Linked DNA regions of Homo sapiens: regions 1, 3 and 4 are each linked to region 2. The links are contacts of gene promoters, found by promoter capture Hi-C in blood cells and fetal thymus (Javierre and others, 2016). All regions are on one chromosome and are shown on one strand. The core of a region is centred on a gene start or on the middle of the fragment in contact, and the rest is flanking DNA. Distances in the headings are between cores, read along the strand shown.

Region 1 (2,700 bases), core at 131-2,630, 930 kb before region 2:
CATACATAATTGCATAATATGTAAGAAAAATATCCATTTTCCTCGCACTTTATAAGACAAGTGTGTGCAGGTACCAGATTAATGATGTCAGTCTGGCTAGTTCTACTTGACATTTTTTTCTTAAAATTTTAACATATAGATTTTATACTTCTCGACTCTTATAACCTTGTATGCAGTAATGACTAATCAATTAAATGATACCCCCAAATATTAATATAAATGCTAGGCAAGATACAAGAATTCCCCAGCGGGTCCATTTTGCTGCCTCTGGTTTAGAAAATCAACTTTGCAGCCGGCACGTTGGTGGTGCCACTGTGATATACTCAGGTTTGTGTGGATGCTTCCTGCCTCGCCTTCCTGCCGCAGGGGTGGGAAGTGTGTGGTGTTGAGGTCAAAGGACCGGGCAGGTCCATGTGACTGCTCAGGTGAGGCTGGACCGTCTAACATAGGGGCTTTGGGATCACGTCCACGCCTCCCTTCATGGGTGAGGGACAATACTGTGGTTTCTCACAAGGACGCGCCCATCTGGAGATAAAAGTGAGGCACTGAAGGTGGAATTTGCTCCTGGATGAGGGCCCGGTTTGCTGGCCCCTCCCGGCGGCTGCCCCCACCCACTTGTTTTCCAGCTTGGCAGTGCTGAGCAGGGTGTCTCTGGGCAAACCCCGTCCGTGCCTGCGGAAGCCAGAGGGAGCCGCCTGTGCTCGGCGCCAACCATGGAAGCGGCTTTCAGAGTCCTCGGAGGACCCTCTCCGGGGACCACAGGGCGACGGCCGCTCCTAGCGCAAGGGCGTTTATGAACTGCTTGATAAAAAGGTCAGAGCGATTTAAGCAAAAACGGAAGGCCCTGCTGCGGCTGAAGACCCTTCTGAGGGGGAGATAAGCCCGCTGTGAAATTAGAATGTCAGTCAGCGGGAAAATGGGATTCAGAACGCTTTAAAGCTGAAAAGCTCCTTAGAGACTTTGCATCAGAAGCCCTCATTTTCTAGGTGAGAAGACTGGAGCCCGGTGAGATGGAACAGGCCCTGCAGGGCAGGACTGGGGCTGGACTCTCACACGCCTGGGTCCTGACTCTCGGGTCTTCCCACAACATCGGTCTGCATCAGGAGGCAGAGACTGGTTAGATGTTCAGCTTTCTGCTCTGGGTACGCCTTTTGGGAACCTGTCCCCTGGGAAAGAAGCAAACAGATTACCCCAGTTAGGAGTAGATCCAGCCTCCTGAAGCTGAGGACCGGGAACCCCTGCCCCCATAGCATGCTTCTGAGGTTCAGATGGGGGCAGCGGGAGATTTGGAGGAACATAAGGGAGAAGCGGCAGCAACTAAAACCTTGGCAGGCAGCGGAGGCCTCTCTGCCCGGAGCCCGTTGCAGCAGGAAGCCCCAAAGCCACACGGAACAGTACCTCCTGCCCTCGGCCCCTTCCAGGGAATCGAACCAGCTTCCGGGCCAACCTGGCCCTTGGCTGAAGCCCTGCTCTGCCCTGCCTCCTGCAGCCCCCGCCAAGCACCAGGCCTCTTACGGGTGGTATTGGGTCCCCAACAAAGACATGTCGAAGCCCTAACCCGTGATACCTGTGAATGTGGCCTTATTTGGAAATGGGATCTTTGCAGATGTCATCAAGTTAAGATGAGGTTATACTGGTTTAAGGTGGGCCCTAAGCCCCTGAATGCTACCCTTACAAGAGGAGAAGAGACCCAGAGACAGCACAGGCGGAGGGAGACGATGTGAACACACACAGCGAGAAGGCCACGGACGGCAGAGGCAGAGATCCGAGGGATGAGTCCACAGCCAAAGGGCTCCAGGGCTCCCAGCACCCCTGGGAGCTGGGAGAGAGACCTGGAGCAGATTCTGGATTCTCCCCCAGAGCCTCCAGCCCTAGCACGGCCCTGTCGACGCCTGGATTTTGGACCCGAGCGGTCCAGAATTGCGGGAGAATACATTTCTGTTGTTTTAAGCTGCCTGGCTTGGGGTAGTCTGTACCGCAGCTGAGGAGATGTACACGATGGCCTTTAGAGTCCGCTCTGAGGCACCCCTGGAGACTGCTCCTGCTGTCCAGGACTTGACCGCAGCAACCACCTGACCCGCCCTCATCCCTCCCTCACCTCATTCCCACTCGCGTCCAAATCTACCCTCCTCACCCTGCTGCAATGGCCTTGCGCAAACACACCTCTGATCATGGCCCCTGTGCTCAGCGATGCTTGGAGGCCAGCGTGGCAGCCCAATCACAATTGCCCAGCGTGGCTACGTGCCCTCCAGGGTCCCACCGCATTCCCTGGGCCCCCCAGGCCCTCACGTCGCCGTGCCCACCCTTCGTTCTTCAGGGACCACTGTGGGGTCAGGTCTCAGCATCGCCCCCGCCTCTGTTTCTATTATCAGGAAGCCGCTTGTTCCCTGTCTTGCTAGCAAATACCTGCCCATGTTTTCACATTCGAGCCGGTCCTCTGCGCTCCAGGTTCAAGCAATTCTCCTGCCTCAGCCTCCCAAGTAGCTGGGACTACAGGTCGGGCCTGGTTAGTACTCGGATGGGAGACCGTTTATTCATTTTATAAGCAATCGTAATAAAGACACACGGGGATGTGCAGTGACCTGGTTCTGCCCTGCAGAACTGCTCAGCATGTTTGGGAGGAAAGATGCATTCAGAAACCTCCCTTCAACTTCTCCTTGGCCACTGTGTGAGTGTCTTGATGTCACTCCAAATCAGCAT
Region 2 (2,700 bases), core at 201-2,700:
TTCTGCTCATCAAAGACACCCTGCTCCTTCTCACCAAAGGAACCTTTCCACCTGTTAATCCCTCTATCCAGGAAGCTCTTCCCACATCTCTTCTGACAGCCCGATCCTTCCCATTATTCAAATATCTGAAAGTTACTGACTCAAAAATTCCCTACCTGACTACTCTAGCTAAGAGACAAGACCAATATTCCAACATCCTCCTTTATTTTCTAACACCTAAAATCTTCTGAGGCCTTATTCACACATATGCATCTTACTTATGAGAGATCCTATTTTGTTCACCACAATGTCTGTAGTTCCTAGAACACTAGGCAGAGTAGGTAATGAGGTGCTGGTGAGTTCCGTTTTATCACTGAAACCGCGATAGTAGGAAGTTAAAAGAGACCCCCGACATCAGGCAGCTAGGAGAGTCGTGGGAAATGAGGGGCACTATTGCCCAAGTACCACCCCATAAGATCTGGAGCCATACTCTAGCAATTCTCCCTTATGTCACTCTAAAGAAGAGCCCACGCCGCTGTTAGAAACCTCCAGTCTCTGCATGCCTTTCATAAACTACTTTTATCAAACAACTGACAAGCTACTTGACCAATTACTTGGCTTGCTTTTTAAAAAATTAGCCTCGGGATGGCACATCTGCTATAAGCTGAAACGCCTCCCTAGACTCTTCGAGTCTAAGACTCAGACAACCCACATGTCACGTAAGATTCTGCCTCCAAACAACAAATACTCAGGATGGGCCAGAAGACCAAAGCGTTATCCTCAGGGAGATAACTGCCCTCGGCGTTTCACCTGTCCCTCACTGACCTACGGAGTCTGCCCTAGGGAGCTCCGAGGCCGGGTAGGGAAGGTGGGGGGCCCTCCAAACCTCGCTTACTCCACCCCCACCGTTACACCAGCGCATTCCAGTCAATGAACTCTGGGTTTCAAGCTTAAATAAAGCAAAGAAAGCCGTCCCCAAAACTCATGTAGGAAAAAGAGAGCAGAGAGACGAGCGAGCAAGAGCTACGGTTGGGAAGGGAGAGCAGCGCACTGAGGCACAGCCCGCGCGGCCGGACCCCACATCCCTGCGCTCCCGGCCGGCCGAGCCGAGTCCCCCCCCGCGCCCGGGGCCCCGGGAGGTGCTGCACCTGCTGCAGAGAGGCGCAGCCCTGACATCGCGACAGGTCCGCCGCCGTCCCGGGCGCCGCCGAATGGGTCTCGCCCGGCATCATGGTGCCGCCGCCGGGCCCGGTGGGCACGCACGCCTCAGGGGCCCGCGGCGTCGGCCCCGTCCTGTCTCTGCTGATGCCGCCGGGGCCGCCGCCTGCCAGGCCGCTTCCCGCCAGGTCCGGGCGGGTCCATCCGTGCACAGAGGTCCCCGTGGGGCTAGCAAAAGGCTCTCCGAGCCAGAGCTGCCTCAGGCACTAAAAAGAAACGCTACCCGGCGCGGCCCCCGAGCGCGACGCAGTCCAGTCAGGGCCCCGCCCCGCCCTGGCTCGCCCCGCCCCGCCCTGGCTCGCCCCGCCCCTCCCCTGGGCGCGGGGCTGCCTAAGGCGCTGCCTGAGCAACACCGGGAGAGGAGCTGTGCTATGCGGCGGGGGAGACGCCCACAGAGGAGCAGCCAATAGGAGTAGAAGGATCGAAGGTGCATTCCTACCACTGTTAAGGGTCGATCCTTTATTGCCACCTTGCTGTACGACAGGCTTTCCATAGACACCTAAAGGCCTCCGCTATGTGGGCGGTGACCCGCCCGTGACGTAAGCTCCAGACGCCTGAGAAGTGGAAGGACCCGGCGTCCAGGACAGGAAAGTGCGTGATTTACAGCTAGAGGGATAGGCGCTGTCCCGGAGCCCGTCCTGGGCCAGGGAGCAGGAGAGGGAGGGACTACAGTTCCCGACGCGCTGCGGGGCGGGCGGAGATCGTGCGCTTCGGCGCCAGTTGCACGGCCTTAGCAGCCAGTGGCGGCTCCCCTGCTCCTGTAACAGTCCCCTTGTCTTCTGACCTTTCGCTCCTCGGTCATGTGTCCTCGCCGGTCGCCGCGGCAGCCAGTGATGCCCGAGCGGCGGGTTCCCAGGCCCAGGTGTGGGCGCCACCGCCCACCATGCGCCAAGCCCAGAGCCTGGTTGAATCGTTCGCCACCTTGTCTACCCATTTTGGCCATTATCCTGCCACCTCCAAATCCTGTTTTTGACACTTCTCGGGAGAGAGAGAAAACGGAAAGATAAAGGAATAAACTCCTCGTGGTCGTAGTTAGTGGGTAAATTCAGATCTCGTTTGAACCGAGGTTTTTCTTATCTCCAGCCACCGTATCCACCACCACCAGAATCGTCTTTTTAGTCATCACAGCTGGTCGCCGTCAGTACCTTGTTCAGAAGCCTCTCGCAGCTTCCATCGTGTGGTTATACAATCCAAATTCCTTATAAAGTCCAAATTCAAGAGGAGGAATGCACGTTTAGTTAAGTTAATGTCTAGACCTTACCAGCCAATTTCTAGCTCCTCAGTATGGAAATTGCAACTGAAAACACCCCTTCCAAAAAAAGCAGTCTGCATTTTTCTCTGAGTTTTCTTCTCCAAATTTCGCACCCCTGACCTTGCTTACACACTCTGGATACCACCTGCTGTGGAGTGGCGGAAGCAGACATCCAGCGATAGCTAAGTTTCCTGTCGTTGACACCCAAGCAAGACAGGCGTGTACCTAACTGAGGACCTGCCGGTGATAGA
Region 3 (2,845 bases), core at 18-2,517, 970 kb before region 2:
AAGATCCATGTTCCTTCCAAACCATTGCTCCTCCATCCTCAGGGGCTCTACTGGCTGATACAGTTGCCGCTGGTGACATGTGACTATTTTAATTTTAATTAATTTAAATACATTTAAAGACAATTGAAATTTCAGTTCCTAGTTGCACTAGCCATAGCTCAAGTGTCTAGTGGCTCGCGTGTTGGACAGCACAGATCTCAAAACACTTCTATTATCTCAGAGTGTTCCACTGCTCTGGGGTACTGTCACCTGCCTGGTGGGACCAATCACCAGCACATCAGGGACAGCCTGAAGAAGATGCACCTGATGCCTCATGTTCCCACCCCGAGCAGATACCCATCATTCCTGCTCCCATCCCTTAGTGCAAAGGCCACAGCTCACTTCAGGGAAGCCTGGGTGTGTTAGTCTGTTCTCACACTGCTATAAGGACATACCTGAGACTGGGCAATTTATAAGGGAAAGAGGTTTAATTGACTCGCAGTTCCACAGGTCTGGGGAGGCCTTGGGAAACTTATAATCATGGCAGAAGGGGACACAAATACATCCTTCTTCACAAGACAGCAGGAGAGAGAAGAATGAGAATCGAGTGATGGGGGAAGCCCCTTATAAAACCATCAGATCTCATGAGAACTTACCATCATGAGAATAGCATGGGGAAAACTGCCCCCATGATTCAATTACCTCCCACCGAGTCCCTCTCATGACACGTGGGGATTATGGGAACTACAATCCAAGATGAGAATGGTGGGAAGACACAGCCAAACCATACCAACGGGAAACACAGACAGTGGGTAGCAATGGGTCTGGCTTCAATTCCATTTCTATGGCAGAAGGGCAGAGCAGGTTTCATTGGGATGCAGGCAGTAACCACTAAACGCATTCTGTCTAAAGGTGGAGACGGTTCTCAGCCTCTAGCAGATTCTCTACCTCTGAGGAGGGAACAGGGCCCAGATGTGTCAGAGCTGACCAGGAAGCTATTAATTCTGCCTGAGGCAGTAAGCAAAAGCTTCACCAACATGCTGACATTTATTTCAGATTTCCCCAAGTAAAGCAGAAGGTATGGAAGAAGACTTTAAAGCAGAGAAAAGAAACCAGCAAAGGCAAAGAGGCGGGATTGGTGAGGGTCCCATGAGGCTGTAGGGCACTGGTCAGTGGGAAGGTGGTATCAGATCAGGTGGTAAGGATTTAGAACTTGTTCTGAGGACCAGCGATTCTCAAAGGAGAAATGAGGGCTGCAGAGCAGCTTCCTGGAGGTCGACTCTTTTCACACTACTTGTCTCACCCCTCCGAGAATCCTTTCCCTCTGCCAGGGGCACATGCACCCACTCCTCTCCTCCTGCCTCACCCAGAGAATTGGGGTAATAGAGTGAGTACATGGTCATGGGGATGGGGCTATGCAGAGAGAGGATTTTAACATCCCTGGTGTAGACAGCGGGGTGATGTCAGGAGGTTTTAGGTTGAGGAATGACATCATCAAATACATTTTTGGAAGAAGGAGCCAGTATACAGCACAAAAAGGAAAGCTTGGCTTTGCACATTTTGGGTAGAAACTGATAGAAGGAAGCCACGTTTACCAAATGCCTTCTACATTCCAGGTGCCATGCGAGATGCTCCACACATCAATAGGCACATTTCTTCTATTTCCAGGAGGAGAAATCTGATGTAAGTGAATCCAGCAGGGATCTGTTCACTGGGTGCAGCGAAGTCAAAGACTGATGTTGGGATAGTAGCAAGAGAAAGTGAGGCGTTTATGTAGGGCCCCAAGCAAGGAAAATCAGGCATCCCATGTTCAAGACCCAACTCCCAGATGGCTCATAGGTGAGGGTTTTTACCAACGTGGAGGCAGAGGTTACAAGTAAAGTCATAAATTCAAATATGGAGACTATACGTTGGTTTGACCTAAAAACGTAGGACAACTGGAAGTTGGGGGCCCACAGGTTATAGGTGGATTTAAAGATTTCTGATCTGTGATTGGCTAAGGAGGCAAAGCTTTGTCTAAAAATGTGGGATCAGCAGAAAACAATGTTATTAGGTTGGTGCAAAATTGCACGTTTTGCCACTGAAAGTAACAGCAAAAAAAAAAAAAAAAAAAACCTGCAATTACTTTTGCACCAAACTGATAGCTCTAACTTGTGGGTGTGACGTTCCCAGGCCCCTTAGGAAGAAATTTAGAACAAAGAACAGTGACCAGAGTTTAGTTTTTAGTTTCCCTTAATTTGAGGTCTATGTGTTAGCAAATCTGTTTGGTGGGGGTTCAGGTTTTTGAAAAATAACTCAGGGACATATGTTAAGGTGTTATTTTCAGTTTTTATAGGGAATAACATATCTCTTGACTAACTTTTTTGGCTACTGTTTTAAGCTACTATTATCTTTTTGTTTATTCAGTTATTTTTCAGTGTGAGCTAGGTGCCTGGAATTTTTCCTGAAGGAACTTAAGAGTTTTCTTTATTTCTTCACTGGGCAGGGGGTGACCTGCAGGCCCCTAGGAGGAGTCCCTGCTCCATCTCACTGAAGACCAAGACAATTCTAGAAATGGGCCAAAGTCATATACCAAAGAAGTACTGGGGCTGCGTCCCTTCCTGGCCATACCTGAGCTCCACTTTAGACAGCCAGGGGGACATAAGAAATGCCATTTGGGGTCACTGAGGGCTCAGTGTGGTCATGAGCTCCTTGGTGGGAAAGTACAATGGCTCTAGTTTCTTTTTTTTTTTTTTTTTTTTTTTGAGACGGAGTCTCGCTCTGTCGCCCAGGCTGGAGTGCAGTGGCGGGATCTCGGCTCACTGCAAGCTCCGCCTCCCGGGTTCACGCCATTCTCCTGCCTCAGCCTCCCAAGTAGCTGGGACTA
Region 4 (2,700 bases), core at 9-2,508, 540 kb after region 2:
TCTGCCATGTCTCTCCTTGTGATGCTCCCCATGCCTCATGGTCACCTAAACCCTTCCTTTCCTCTGATTCTGTTGTACCCATTCACTTAAGGGTCCGAATCGTCTGTGATGTTTTGGAAAATATCGTTCCTTCTCCTGGCCAGGTTTCTGGCTTTGTTAGGCCAGTCATAAACAGCACGGTCATAAGCAACACATCCATTGCAAACCTGCTTCTCCTCCCTATTGTCTGCAAGCCCCAGTTAAATGTTAGTACCAATATTAATTCATTTTCAATATTGTTTTCTTAAATTACATTACTATTTCTTAAAAATAACCTTTGTCTCCCTTCTGTTGCCTACTCTTGGGTAAAAGGGTTAGTCATAAAACTTGCTCCTGTAATGCCTCCTTTAAATGTCATTTTGAGCAGTTTTTATTTGGGGCATCAAATTAAAGTGATTCGTGTATTTGTTTTCTCTTTTTCTCCCTGCATGCTCAGCACTTTTCCTCACCGCAGGGTAAGGTCCCCAGGAACACCCTTGTACACGCTCATTGTCATGAGGGTTGAGTTGGGCCATCATAGCCAGAGTGACCTGTGGAAATGCTGAGTTCCTCCTCCAGAAGTGTCAGTGCAGGCAGCTAGTGTGAGCACACAGCCTTCTGCGGATGCTGGAGGGAGCAGCCAGCCAGAGAACTGAGCTTTTCCAAGGAACCAGGGAGGGGAGGCAGCAGCTGTGACGGATCTGAAGTGGCCCTTGACACATGGGCTTATTAAATTAAAGTTATTGGCACAGTAATGTGAGCGAGAATCATGCACTGAATGTGAATCCAGGATTCACATCCTGATTTGTGCATGCATCCAGCCCTGCCTTTCCAAGGTGACACTTCTATTACTCCGCTGAACTCTGCTCCTCTGTGATAATAACGGGGTACCCTTGGCTTGCACACTTGAGATGTGTCTTGTTCCCGGCACTGGATGCCTGAGGACATTGCCTTTCTTTGCTTGTGTCCCCGTTTGTATTTTAAAATGTGCTAGAATGCAATCCCCTCACCTCCCTCAGAGTAGTAGTTAATATTTCATATGGATTCTGAAAAGTTACATCTACAGTTCTGTCAGAAGTGAGATGCTGAAGGTCTACAGACTTTATAGTGCAGGTAATCAAAGACCCCGTGAAGACATTGGGAGGTCAGTGAACAACACAGTCAACCTACAGTGCCTGGAGTCAAACTTTTCAGATAAGTCTCTACCCTGTACCATTTCATGATGACAAACAAGGCCCAGCCACCCTATCCGTGGGACACTGGCAGGTTCTTGTCAATCAGGCCTCAGAACCATCTTTTAATGTTTTCCTGCCACCTAGGGTGATGCTACCTCTGAGCTTATACCCAGATGCTGCCCCCAAGAGTGTGGACTGAAAAGACACTGCCAGAATCTGGATTCAGACACTTCCACACCGTGGAGTGCTAAAGGGCACAACAGCAGGGCCCTGAGCTGCCTCCTGGTTGTCACATTCATGCACGTGGTTGTCCTGTGCCACAAATGCCCTTCCAGCCTGGCCCTCCAGCCCTGGGTCTGTCTGGGGACCACCTCTTTTGGCTTCAACATCCATCTCAAAGGTCACCTCTTCTCTTAGCTTTGCTTCAGAAATCACTGTTTTCTCTGCCTGCCATCAGTGTGGGACTCCTCTCTCTTGCCTTATGTTTCCAAGTTGGCTGCTTCCTCAAGGACTGTGAGTTTCTGCAGGACCTGGTGAGTAGAGCTTCCAATGGCCTCCTCCTCATCCCATTGGTGAGGGAGGAAGTCCTGCTCCAGGCTTATGAAGATGGCCAAACACACACCAGCACGGGGCAGATGCAGCTGGCAGTGGTATGTTAGTCACATCCACTCACATTCCCAGGATGGAAGACACCGTGCGTCATGTGGCCCCACAGAGTCACATTCAGGAACTGAGTATCCACCCAGGGGCTGGGGCAGGCTGGCTGTGTAGTAACAAGAGGGTGGGATGACCCTGGTTCCAGAAGGAAGATGCAATTTGCCTGTTTGCATCATTTCAGGGGCTGGGGGTTGTGGAAGGCCACTGCTCAGGGATCAGCTGACATTGCACCCGATTCCTTGATTCCAAGCAACAGGGCGGCTTGGCCAGGGGACATTGTTCATGGGAGCAGATTGGGCAATATCTATGGCTATGCCATTCCAGACTCTCCTAACTTTACCAGCGCATTAGTACCCCAGTAAGTGCCAGGGAAGGGCTGGTGGTTAGTGTGGCTACCCTTGTAAGTGCCAGGGAAGGGCTGGTGGTTAGCGTGGCTACCCTTGTCAGGCTACTTGCATGGCTAACATTCTACATAGGAAGTGTGCGAAGCTCAGAATTTTTGTATAATTTGTTTTGCCCTCACTTGTCATGCTCCTTCAAATTATAGCAAAAAGTTTAGGAAGATCTCATCTTTGGCATACTGAGGAATCTAAGATCAGTGAGAACTCCCTCTGGTGTGTGGCAGGCCAAGTATTTTAGAGAGGGACGGATGTCCACATATCAACAGCTGGTTTTGTTCATCCTCTATTAGTGTTCTGGATAGTCCTGCATTTTCAAAGTAGTCACAAAAAATAAAACTTCAACTAGTTCTAATCATCTATTAAACATGTCCCGGGGCATTTTCTGGCAGAGTTGAGTGCCGAGTCCATCTGGAGGGGCAACACGGGGCAGGTATGTCTGGGGCTGCAGG

The links. Contacts are between HindIII fragments. The CHiCAGO score rates a contact against its expected background, and 5 or more counts as called.
Region 1: a contact is called between a fragment that was not itself captured here and the fragment with the promoter of ICE1 in region 2, in 1 of 17 cell types (activated CD4 T cells). The highest score is 5.7, in activated CD4 T cells.
Region 3: a contact is called between a fragment that was not itself captured here and the fragment with the promoter of ICE1 in region 2, in 9 of 17 cell types (naive CD8 T cells, naive CD4 T cells, total CD8 T cells and 6 more). The highest score is 12.5, in naive CD8 T cells.
Region 4: a fragment that was not itself captured here is called in contact with the fragment with the promoter of ICE1 in region 2 in 2 of 17 cell types (M1 macrophages and endothelial precursors); the score reaches 8.8 in M1 macrophages.

What each region holds. Positions count from the first base shown.
Region 1 is chr5:6,347,439-6,350,138 of GRCh38, reverse strand. No RefSeq gene overlaps it. Among named protein-coding and RNA genes, the nearest start is that of LINC02145, 11 kb to the right of the region's middle. The HindIII fragment of the contact is 2,989 bases long and covers 1-2,700 here.
Region 2 is chr5:5,421,427-5,424,126 of GRCh38, reverse strand. ICE1 (interactor of little elongation complex ELL subunit 1) reads right to left here and starts at 1,450. Exons shown (of 19, transcript NM_015325.3): 1 at 1,128-1,450. The coding sequence starts at 1,211. It overlaps LOC101929200 (a long non-coding RNA gene), which reads left to right and starts at 1,998. Exons shown (of 6, transcript XR_001742583.3): 1 at 1,998-2,700. RefSeq lists silencers at 1,018-1,157, 1,218-1,547 and enhancers at 1,578-1,827, 1,693-2,203, 2,204-2,700. The HindIII fragment of the contact is 2,607 bases long and covers 931-2,700 here.
Region 3 is chr5:6,388,761-6,391,605 of GRCh38, reverse strand. No RefSeq gene overlaps it. Among named protein-coding and RNA genes, the nearest start is that of MED10, 12 kb to the right of the region's middle. The HindIII fragment of the contact is 517 bases long and covers 1,009-1,525 here.
Region 4 is chr5:4,881,573-4,884,272 of GRCh38, reverse strand. No RefSeq gene overlaps it. Among named protein-coding and RNA genes, the nearest start is that of LINC02114, 110 kb to the right of the region's middle. The HindIII fragment of the contact is 8,088 bases long and covers 1-2,700 here.